Regions from separate parts of the Homo sapiens genome. Here region 2 is linked to region 1. Evidence: promoter capture Hi-C in human tissues and cell types (Jung and others, 2019). All regions are on one chromosome and are shown on one strand. The core of a region is centred on a gene start or on the middle of the fragment in contact, and the rest is flanking DNA. Distances in the headings are between cores, read along the strand shown.

What was found. Contacts are between HindIII fragments. The study calls those that stand out against the background at their distance.
Region 2: a fragment that was not itself captured here is called in contact with the fragment with the promoter of AIP in region 1 in 1 of the 25 tissues and cell types used here (liver).

The regions. Positions count from the first base shown.
Region 1 is chr11:67,480,183-67,485,962 of GRCh38, reverse strand. It overlaps AIP (AHR interacting HSP90 co-chaperone), which reads right to left and starts at 2,937. Exons shown (of 6, transcript NM_003977.4): 1 at 2,706-2,937. The coding sequence starts at 2,804. RefSeq lists enhancers at 1-383, 839-888, 3,036-3,095. The HindIII fragment of the contact is 17,225 bases long and covers 1-3,435 here.
Region 2 is chr11:67,136,591-67,142,166 of GRCh38, reverse strand. The region is part of intron 2 of KDM2A (lysine demethylase 2A); the gene reads right to left. All of the region lies in intron 1 of LOC124902695 (a long non-coding RNA gene), which reads right to left. Among named protein-coding and RNA genes, the nearest start is that of KDM2A, 20 kb to the right of the region's middle. The HindIII fragment of the contact is 5,702 bases long and covers 1-4,657 here.

The DNA.
Region 1 (5,780 bases), core at 1,688-4,187:
CTGAGGTCAGGAGTTCAAGACCAGCCTGGCCAATGTGGCAAAACCCCGTCTCTACTAAAAATACAAAAATTAGCTGGCCATGATGGCGGGTGCCTGTAATCCCAGCTACTTGGGAGGCTGAGGCAGGAGAATCACTTGAACCCAGAAGGTGGAGGTTGCAGTGAACCGAGATCATGCCACTGCACTCCAGCTTGGGCAATAGAGCAAGACTCCGTCTCAAAAAAAAAAAAAAAAAAAAAGGCGTTTGAAACCAGCTTGGCCAACATGGTAAAAGCCCATCTCTACTAAAAACATTTTTAAAAATTAGCCGGGCCTGGTGTCAGGCACATGTAATCTCAGCTACTTGGGAGGCTGAGGCAGGAGAATTGCTTGAACCTGGGAGGCAGAGATTGTGCCATTGCACTCCAGCCTGGGCAACAAGAGTGAAACTCCATCTCAGAAAAAAAAAATAAAATAAAAAATAAAAAAAAATTTGCAATCATTCTCCAAGCCCACAAGTGATCTAATTCTCCAGTACTCCAGTACATCAAGGCAAGAAAACCCCAGACTACAGAAAGCCCTCTGTCCTTGTGATAAGGAAGGGGGTCTAATTGAGCTGGTTAACACAAGCCTCCCATAGACAAACTAAAAGAGCACCCTAGAACACACGGAGCTGTAAATATTCACCCCTAGACACTGCCATGAGGTCGGAGCCCACAGCCTGCCCATCTGTATGCTCCCCCAGAGGTCTGAGCAGCGGGGCACTGAAGAAGCGAGCCACTCCCCCATCGCACGCCCTGCGAGGGAGACAAGGGAACTTCCCGTTTCAAATGCATGATGTGTTCAAGAGCAGCAATGCCAGTGTGGCAGAGCAGAGTGAAGGAGGGGGTGGGGTACACCACAGGGTCAGCAGGGGAGCTCACCCAGGTCAGTAGGGGTGGACCTCACAGGGCCTGTAGGCTATGGTGAGGCCTCTGTTTTTCACTCTGTGATGGAAGCCACTGAGTGGCTCCGAGCAAAAAAGGAATTGAATCTGGCATGGGCTCGGCTGCTGGGACGAGAACAGACCACAGAGGGACAAAAGAGGCAGGAGAGTTAGAGGTCGCTGCAGTAACCCAGGCTGGAGATGAGGATGGCCTGGACCCAAGCAGTGATGGCAGAAGTGGTGAGAACTCAGATCCTGGCTGGATATTGAGGATGTGATGTTGGATGTGAGACTGGGAGGACCACAGAGATGCTAAGGTTTTTGCCCTGAACAACGGGAAGGTTGTTGGTTCCCCTGACACGGAGAAGCCTCAGGTGGAGCAGGTTAAGTGTGAGTTGCCAACCAGGCTTCCAGGTGGATATGGTGAGTAGGGAGCTATATATCAGGTTTAAGAGACAGTTAATGACTGGAGAGCTGCATCTGGGAGTAATCCGGGCAGGGAGAGTTTTTAGAGATAACACTGGGGGTGGGTGCAGAGAAAAGAGGTTTGGAGATTGAACTCTCGACAGGATATGGTTAGAGGAGCCCACGCTCTTAACTGCCGCACCATGCTGCATCTCTGAAGTCAGTTTCCACATCGGTAAAACGGAATCAACAACAGTACCTATCTCACATTGTAGGAAATAAACGTGTGAAGCATGTAGCACAATGTTCGAATAGTGAGCACTCAATCAGTGCTGGCGATTGGTTATTTAACACCACCTGTTTCTGATCTTGGGGTGCCATTGTTCACATCTCTCCTTCTGATGTCTGTTCCATCCAGGATCCCCCTTGCCAGCCCCTTCTTCCAACGCCACCAACCCCCCAGCACATGGGGGCATGAACCCACACCACACATCCTGTCTCTTCTTAGAGAAGATATCTTTTCATACAGCGGATCACTCCAGCCATGCAGCTCCCCTCTGCTCTCAGGGCACTTATACTGCACTGGGCTAGGATGCTTAGCTGCCCGATTCGGCACGGTGCTGGCCAGGGGGCATGTGCTCATTTGCTCAATGTGCATGTCCTGCCTGACTGCTCTGCTGGGCACAGGGGCTGCCCCTGGGAGGTTCCCTACTCTGCAAACAAGTGGCAGCTGGGAAAAGCACTCCGGGAGGAGGCAACTACAGGAGAAGCAGGGAAGCCTGGAGTTGTAGGTTGGGGGAGAAGCGGGCAGAGGGGCTGGATCTGGGGGCCTGGCAAAAAGGAGAAAAGTGGGAGGTTCTTTACTTCCCAACCCTCATCTGTCCCAACAAGCCCCTAGTGCAGCAGGAAGGCTGCTAAAGAGTCCCTGTCTGGGAGACCTGACCTCTGGGCCCGTTCTCCGGCTTTGCACGTCCCAGGGTCTTGGTTTTCCACTCTAAACAGCGGCAGTTGGTCTAAGTGTTTTCAGAAGGCCCTTCCATCTACAAAGGATCATGAGCCTTGAAACCCAGATACCCGAGGACCACTCCCGGCCCTGGGTTTCCTCCAGCGTGGGGTCTGCCCAAGCACTGAGATCAACCCCCAACCCCAACCCGCTTGTGATGACTGACGGCCTCCCCCACCAATGCTGCTACAAGGCCGAGCCAGGGGGCGGGGCAGACAGGCCCGAATTCACCCCCTACTTAAATTCAGCCCAATCAGCGTCGAGTTCTGCATGTGAGCGGTAGGGGCAGTGGACGCTGCCCTCTGGGCATGCGCAACCTCTCGCCTAAGGCCTCCTCCCGCCTCGCATGCGCACCACGCCGCAGAGGGGGAGAAGGGTAGGGTAGACACGAACCTTGGTCCCATCTTGAAAGTCCGGGAGCTCTCCTCGGCCTTCCTGTATCACACGTTTTTGGATCCCGTCCTCCCGGAGTCTTGCGATGATATCCGCCATCCTCCTTCCCCGCTGCTCCCTTTCGGCAACTTCCGGACTCGCTCGGTAGCTTCCGGACTTGCTTCGGCAACTCCTAGCACCTCGGCAGCTTCCGAGCTAGCGCCATTTTGGTTGAGGGCAGAAGCCAAAAGGGACTGAGCGTGGAAACGGATGGTGATTGGTTCTCTGCGCTGGGGCTGAGCGCGCGCGTCTGCTCGGGGGCGGAGCCTAGGAATGTCTCGGGGCTGGACCCCAGCCTGTCAAGGAGGAAGGGCCGGGGTCCGCGGGCCGGGCGGGACGAGGACGTCCCTAACAATTGTCATTGAATTGATTGGGACTGCGGCCGTGTGGCACTTTGTTTGAAGTTGTGGATGGAATATAACAGCACTGCAGAGTTAGGAAAATGAAAAAAAAAAAAAACACCCGTAAGCCACACCCTCAAAGTGTTATGATTTTTGTGTATTTTCTTCCGGCTTTTTCTCTTTCGCATATCTAGTATGATTGTCGGGACTCTTGCATCCTGGATCTTCCTCTTTCAAAAAATAAAAAGAGGAAGAGGGAAAGAAAGGTGGAGAAGGAGACCAAGAGAGCCCATTGCGGGGTCGGAAATGAGTCATAGTTGTGCCCAATTAATATTAGGGAATAATCGATGAATGATAGAAATGAGGTACTTTAGCGCCGGGCGCGGTGGCCCTGTAACCCCACCACTTTGGGAGGCCGAGGCGAGAGGATCGCTTGAGCCCAGGAGTTCGAGGCTGCAGTGGGCCGTGTTCGTGCCACTGCACTCCAGGCTAGCCGACAGAGCGAGATGCTGTCTCAAAACAAAACAAAAAAAAAAAATTAAATTAAAAGAAAAGAGAAATGAGGTACTTTGGGGCTAAAACAACTTTTGTTTTTCTTTTTTTGAGACGGAGTCTCGCTCTGTCACCCACGCTGGAGTGCAGTGGCACAATTTCAGCTCACTGCAAGCTCTGCCTCCCGGGTTCACGCCATTCTCCTGCCTCAGCCTCCCGAGCAGCTGGGACTACAGGCGCCCGCCACCATGCCCGGCTAATTTTTTGTATTTTTAGTAGAGACAGGGTTTCACCGTGTTAGCCAGGATGGTCTCAATCTCCGGACCTCGTGATCCGCCCACCTCGGCCTCCCAAAGTGCTGGGATTACAGGCGTGAGCCACAGCGCCCAGCTGATATGAAACATTCTAAATAAAATACTAGGCTAATTGAATTCACTAATGTCATGTAAAAATGCATCAGTATGGGGCAGGTGTGGTGGCTTATGCCTCTAATACCAGCACTTTGGGAGGCCAAGGCAAGTGGATCTCCTGGATCTCCTTGAGCTCACAAGTTCAAGACCAGCCTGGACAACATGGCAAAATACCATCTTCACCAAAAATACAAAAAATTAGGTGGTGTGGTGGTGCACGCCTGTGGTCCCAGCTACTCAGCAGGCTGAGGCTGGAGGATTGCTTGAGCCCAGGAGATGGAGGTTGTAGTGAGCCAAGATCGCACCACTGCACTCCAGCCTGGGTGATAGAGTGAGACCCCATCTCAAAAAAAAAAAAAAAGCATCAATATGCTAAGTGAAATAACAGTACCAGTCACATACAGGAAAATACTGTATTATTCTACTTATGTAAGGTACCTAGAGTAGTCAGATTCACAAAGACAGAAAGCAGGGCCGGGCGCGGTGGCTCACACCTGTAATCCCAGCACTTTTGGAGGCCAAGGCAGGCAGATCACCTGAGGTCAGGAGTTTGAGACCAGCCTGGCCAACATGGAGAAACCCCATCTCTACGAAAAATACAAAAATTAGCTGGGTATGGTGGCACGTGCCTGTAATCCCAGCTACTCGGGAGGCTAAGGCAGGAGAATCGCTTGAACCCAGGAGGCAGAAGTTGCATTGAACCAAGATCGCGCCACTGCACTCCAGCCTGGGCGACAGAGCAAGACTCCATCTCAAAAAAAAAAAAAAATGACAGCAGAATGGTGATTGCCAAGGGCTGGGGGCAGGGGGGTGGGAAATGGAGACTTGTTCTTTGATGAGTGTAGAATTTCTGTTTTGAAAGACGAAACTGTTCTGGAAATTGGTTGCATAACAGTGTGCATATACTTAACGCCACTGAGTATACACTTCAAAACGGTTGAGATGGTAAATTTTATGTTATGTTATGTGTATTTTACCACAATTAAGAATAATTTTTTTGCCGGGCGTGGTGGCTCACGCCTGTAATCCCGGCTCTTTGGGAGGCTGAGGCAGGTGGATCACCTCAGGTCAGAAGTTCAAGACCAGCCTGGTCAACATGGTGAAACCCCGTCTCTACTAAATATACAAAAATTGGCCAGGCGTGGTGGCGGGCACCTATAATCCCAGCTACTCAGGAGGCTGAGGCAGGAGAATCGCTTGAACCCGGGAGGCAGAGGTTGCAGTGAGCCGAGATTGCACCATTGCACTCCAGCCTGGGCAACAAGAGCGAAACTTCATTCCAAAAAAAAAAAAGAATAATTTTTTTTTCCGGGCTGGCACGGTGGCTCACGCCTGTAATCCCAGCACTTTGGGAGGCCGAGGCGGGCAGATCACGAGGTCAAGAGATCAAGACCAGCCTGACCAACATGGTGAAACCCCGTCTCTACTAAAAATATAAAAATTAGCCAGGCGTGGTGGCAGGCGCCTGTAATCCCAGCTACTCAGGGAGACTGAGGCAGGAGAATCGCTTGAACCCAGGAGGTGGAGGTTACAGTGAGCCGAGATCACACCACTGCACTCCAGCCTGATGACAGATCGAGACTGTCTCAAAAAAAAAAAAAAGAATTTTTTTTCCAAAGAAAATGCATGAAGATCAAGTAGAGTTTATTCCAAGAATGTAAGAATGGTTCAACATTATAAACATCTATTACTGTAATTCACCACGTCGGTTAACTAAAGGAGAAAATGCATATGGTTATCTCAAAATATGCAGAAAAAGCATTTTATGAACTTCTGTGACTATTTATGATAAA
Region 2 (5,576 bases), core at 557-3,056, 340 kb after region 1:
CTCAGGAGGCTGAGCCAGGAGAATCATTTGAACCTGGGAAGTGGAGGTTGCAGTGAGCGGAGATCGTGCCACTGCACTCCAGCCTGGACGACACAGCAAGACTCCGTCTCAAAAATGAATGAATGAATGAATGAAAGAAATACCATTCATCCATAAAAAAGAATGAAATTCTGTCATTTTCGGAACATGGATGGAATTGGAGAATATTAAATAACATGAAATAAACCAGGCACAGAAAGAGAAGTATCACGTGTTCTCACTCAAATATTAAAGAACTAAAAAGCTGATCTCATAAACAGAGAACAGAATGATGGACACCAGAGGCTGGGAAGGGTGTGTATGAGGGGCAAAGGGGTGCATAAAGAGAGGATGGTTAATGGGCATGAACATACAGTTAGAAGGAATAAGTTCTGAAGCTCAATCGTAAGTAGGGTGACTATAATTAGTAACAATGAATTTTATATATATATATATATATATATATTTTTTTTTTTTTTTTTTGGAACGAGTCTCATTCTGTCGCCCAGGCTGGAATACAGTGGCACGATCTCAGCTCACTGCAAGCTCTGCCTCCCGGGTTCACGCCATTCTCCTGCCTTAGCCTCCCGAGCAGCTGGGACTACAGGTACCTGCCACCACACCTGGCTTATTTTTTGTATTTTTTAGTAGAGACGGGGTTTCACCATGTTAGCCAGGATGGTCTCGATCTTCTGACCTCATGATCCGCCCGCCTTGGCCTCCCAAAGTGCTGGGATTACAGGCGTGAGCCACCGCGCCCGGCCAATAACAATGAATTGTATATTTCAAAATAGCTTGAGAGGAGGACCTGAAATGTTCCTATTAAATATTCAAGGTGATAAGATGCCCCAAATACTCTGACTTGGTCATTACAATCTATGCATCTAATAAAGTATCACATGTACCCCCAAAACAATATGGAAAAATTGTTTCGCATATGAAGAAATGGTTAAATAATAAGGGACAGAAGTAAATGGATGGGTATCTTCAGATGCTTGTGTTCCCCAAAATACAATGTTTAGGAGAGTTCCTAATATTTTCATCGATGAGACAACGTGGAGTGACACTCCAAAGAGAGGGGGATAAACTGAGAAAGTGCCCACAAAGCTAAATGAGTAGTATTTATCAACCTTTGACTTGAGCAAGCATGAGGTAAGAGGTCTGGAGAAAAATTAAGTAATCCATGCAGTAATTAAAATATAGCGTTTTTTAAACTAGTTCTACCTAATAAAAAGTGATCCAAATCTATGGTGATACCTCATGACGTTAACCCAGAATCTCTGGTAAGGTTCTTCATAAAGTAGACCCAATAAATAACTGGTGAATTAAATATGCTACTAGAGACAGAAAGGTTAATATAAATAAATCAAAAGTATACTTGTAACTTTTTTTTTTTGAGACAAAGTTTCACTCTTTTTGCCAGGCTGGAGTGCAATGGCACAATCTTGGCTCACTGCAACCTCCGCCTCACGGGTTCAAGCAACTCTCCTGCTCCAGCCTCCCAAGTAGCTGGGATTACAGGCGCCTGCCACAACGCCTGGCTAATTTTTTGTATTTTTAGTAGAGGCAGGGTTTCACCATGTTGGCCAGGCTGGTCTCAAACTCCTGACCTCAGGTGATCCACCCGCTTCCACCTCCCAAAGTGCTGGGATTACAGGAGTGAACCATCGCACCAGGCCTACTTGTAACTTCTTTTAAGGTTTTCTTGAGACAGTCTTGCTATGTTGCTCAGGGTGGTCTTCCGACCTATATTCTTTGTATAAAACCATGATATTTTTTTTTTGAGACAAGATCTCACTCTGTCACCCAGGATGGAGTGCAGTGGCGTAATCAAAGCTCACTGCAGCCTTGACCTTCCAGGCTCAAGTGATCCTTCCACCTCAGCCTCCCAATTACCTGGGACTAGAGGTACACGCCATGACAGCCAGCTAATTTTTGTATTTTTTGGAGAGACGGGATTTCGCCATGTTGCCCAGGTTAGTCTCCAACTCCTGAGCTCAAGCCTTGAACTCCTCCTGCCTTAGCCTCCCAAAGTGTTGGGATTATAGGTGTAAGCCACCGTACCCAATCCACAAACCATGGTATTCTCTCTCAATTGGTGGCACCACCCATCAACCAGGAACTCAAGCTAAGAACACAGGAGTAGGCCAGGTGCGGTGGCTCACGCCTATAGTTCCAACACTGTGGAAGGCCAAGATGCACACATCAGTTGAGGTCAGGAGACCAGCCAGTGCAACACAGTGAAACCCGGACTCTACTAAAAAAATACAAAAATAGCCAGGCATGGTAGCACATGCCTCTAATCCCAGCTACTCAGGACCTGAGGCAGAAGAATCACTTGAACCCGGGAGGCAAAGGTTGCAGTGAGCCAAGATCGTGCCAGCGCACTCCAGACTGAGTGACAGAGCGAGACTCTGTCTCAAAAAATAAATTAAAAAAAAAAATAGCAGCAGCAACCTTGCAACCTTTGGGCCAGTCGTGGTGGCTCATGCCTGTAATACTAGTACTTTGAGAGGCTGAGGCAGAAGGATCACTTGAGCCTAGGAGTTCAAGACCAGCCTGGGCAACCAACGTAGACAGATCCATCTCTAAAAAACAAAAAGAGGCTGGGTGCAGTGGCTCACGCCTGTAATCCTAGCACTTTGGGGGGCCGAGGTGGGCGAATCACCAGAGGTCAGGAGTTCAAGACCAGCCTGGCCAACACGGAGAAAACCCATCTCTACCAAAAATACAAAAATGTGCTGGGCGTGGTGGTGGGTGCCTGTAATCCCAGCTACTTGGGAGGCTCAGGCAGGAGAATCATTTGAACCTGGGAGGCGGAGGTTGCAATGAGCTGAGATCATGCCACTGCACTCCAGCCTGGGGGACAAAGCGAGACTCCGTCTCAAAAGAAAAAAGAAAAAAGGAAAAAAAAAAAAAGTAGCAATCTTTGGCTGGCAGGGCTGCAGGGTACACTTACTTGCCCTGGCTTGGTTAACTGGTGTCACCAGGAAGGGCGTAGTAATGGGCCCCTTCTGTACTCACTGAAGGTTATTTAAATAAGACTTAAGGAGCATGGTGGGGGGAGAAGCAGTCTTCAGAAACTTAATACTACTGCCTGTGATTCAAGGATACTGTGCCTAAGATACCATTAGTGGTTTAGAAAAATGTCAGCAAATTCAACTGGCAGGAAATATGAAGAAACGATTTTAAAATAACTTTAAGCTGTGAAGTGTGAAATTAAGGTAACTACCTCTAGTTAATTTTTTGTTTCCAACAAACAGAAAAACTGCTACAACAATTCCAATGGTTCTCAAACTTTACCATCTATCAGAATCACCTGGAGAACTAGTTGAAACACAGGCTGTTGAGTCCCCACTGCCAGACTTTCTGATTCAGTACGTTTGGGGTAGGATCCAAGAATGTAGTGGCACAATCTTGGCTCGCTGTAACCTCCACCTCCCAGGTTCAAGCAATTCTTCTGCCTCAGCTTCCCTAGTAGGTTGGATTACAGGTGCACACCACCACACCTGGTTAATTTTTGTGTTTTTGGTAGACATGGGATTTTGCCATGTTGGTCAGGCTGGTCTCGAACTCCTGACCTCTGCTGATCTGCCCACCTCAGCCTCCCAAAGTGCTGGGATTACAGGTGTGAGCCACCGTGCCCAGCCCAAGAATTCCCTTTCTAACTAGTTCCCAGGTAATGTGGTCTGGGGAGCACACTTTGAAAACAACTGGTTTAAATTATTAGAACTAAGAACCTTGTAGGTGAATAAAATAAAGCTAGATAACTAACCTATGCAACCTGATTAGCAATCTAAGGTTCTTTTCATTGTTGAAATTCACTTACTGTGTTCTCTACATTTTATGTATTTTTAGGACTACATAACACATTTTTGTTCAATTCAATAGACAAGTTTTGAGCACCTGAATAAAGCATATTCCTTGACTTACAGAAGTCTACTCTTACTAGGTAAAAAGAGACTCACGGTCAAATACAGACTTGTGCCACTTAACGGCATTTCACTCAACAACTGTATATGTGACGGTGGTCCTATAATAATACTATAGTTTGGCCAGGCGCGGTGGTTCACGCCTGTAATCCCAGCACTTTGGGAGGCTGAGGCAGGCGAATCACAAGGTCAGGAGATAGAGATTATCCTGGCCAACATGGTGAAACCCCGTCTCTACTAAAATACAAAAAATTAGCCGGGCATGGTGGTACATGCCTGCAGTCCCAGCTACTCAGGAGGCTGAGGCAGAAGAATCACTTGAACCTGGGAGGCAGAGGTTGCAGTGAGCCGAGATCGCACCACTGCACTCCAGCCTGGGCGACAGAGCTGAGACCCCTTCTCAAAAAAAGACCCAATCATATGCCAGTAAGTCCTTCCTTAGACCCAGAATCATACCCAATTACCTACTCAACAGTTCTACTGTGATATTTCACAAGCACTTCTCATTTAACCTTTTCAAGTTTTCTCAAAACTGAACTTATGCTCCTTTGCTCAGTCCCCAAACCTGCTCTTCCTTCAGTGTACCCTATTTCAATAAAAGAACTGTATTATAAGCCATGCACTAGGAAAACTTGGGAGTCATACTTATATTTACCTCCTTTACACTGACCCTCAAAACATTCAATGAAAAGTCCCATGATTCTATTTCATATATAGTTCTCATAGAATCAATCATAGAATCTCAATCATAGAATCAATCTCCTCTCTAGTTCTGTCAGCACTCAACCATACCACATCATTGTCTTACCTGAACCAATATAATAGCCTCCTAATTAATCTCCCTAAATCTATTCTTGCCCTCTCCCTGACCCTTTCTCTACATTGCAACCACTGACATTGGTCCAAACGCATTACTACTCTGCTGAACTTCTGCCTTCCCAATGGCTTCAGGATAATGCCCTATTTGATCTGACCTGTCTACCTTGTCAAGAATTTTAACTCTCTCCTTCACTTATGTTTCTTCAGTTACAATGGCTTTTTTGGTGTTTTGTTTAGTTGGTTGGCTTAGCTGGTTGGCAGGTTTCTCAAACATGTCAAATTCTTTCCAACCTTAAGAGTTTCTGCATGTGCTAATCACTCTGCATCTTTGCCTGGTTACCTCCTAGTCACCCTTTAGGTCTCAACTTCAAAGCCTCTCTCAGGAAAGTGTTCTCTAATGTTTCTATCTACTACTGAAGTCTAGATTAGCTCACTCTATCATATACTGTTACTGCAGCCTATGTTTACCTTTGTAGCCCTTTGTGTAACTGTAATTAACATTACTAGTATTTGTTTAATGTCTGACTTTTCCACCAGACCAGAAGCTCCATGACAGAGGGACCATACCTGTTTTATCCATTACTGTAAGCCAGAGCGCCCTACATGGTATCTGAACATGGTTAAATGCTTAGTATTATTTTCTCATTCCTACCTTAGGACTTTGCATTGCCTGTTCCCTATACCTAGGGCCCCAGACCTGGTCCCCAGAACCCCTGAACATCACAAGATTGGCTGTTCATCACTCAGGTCTCAGTACAAAATGCCACCTTCTCAAGAAGCCTTTCACTGATCACTCAATCTCAAGGA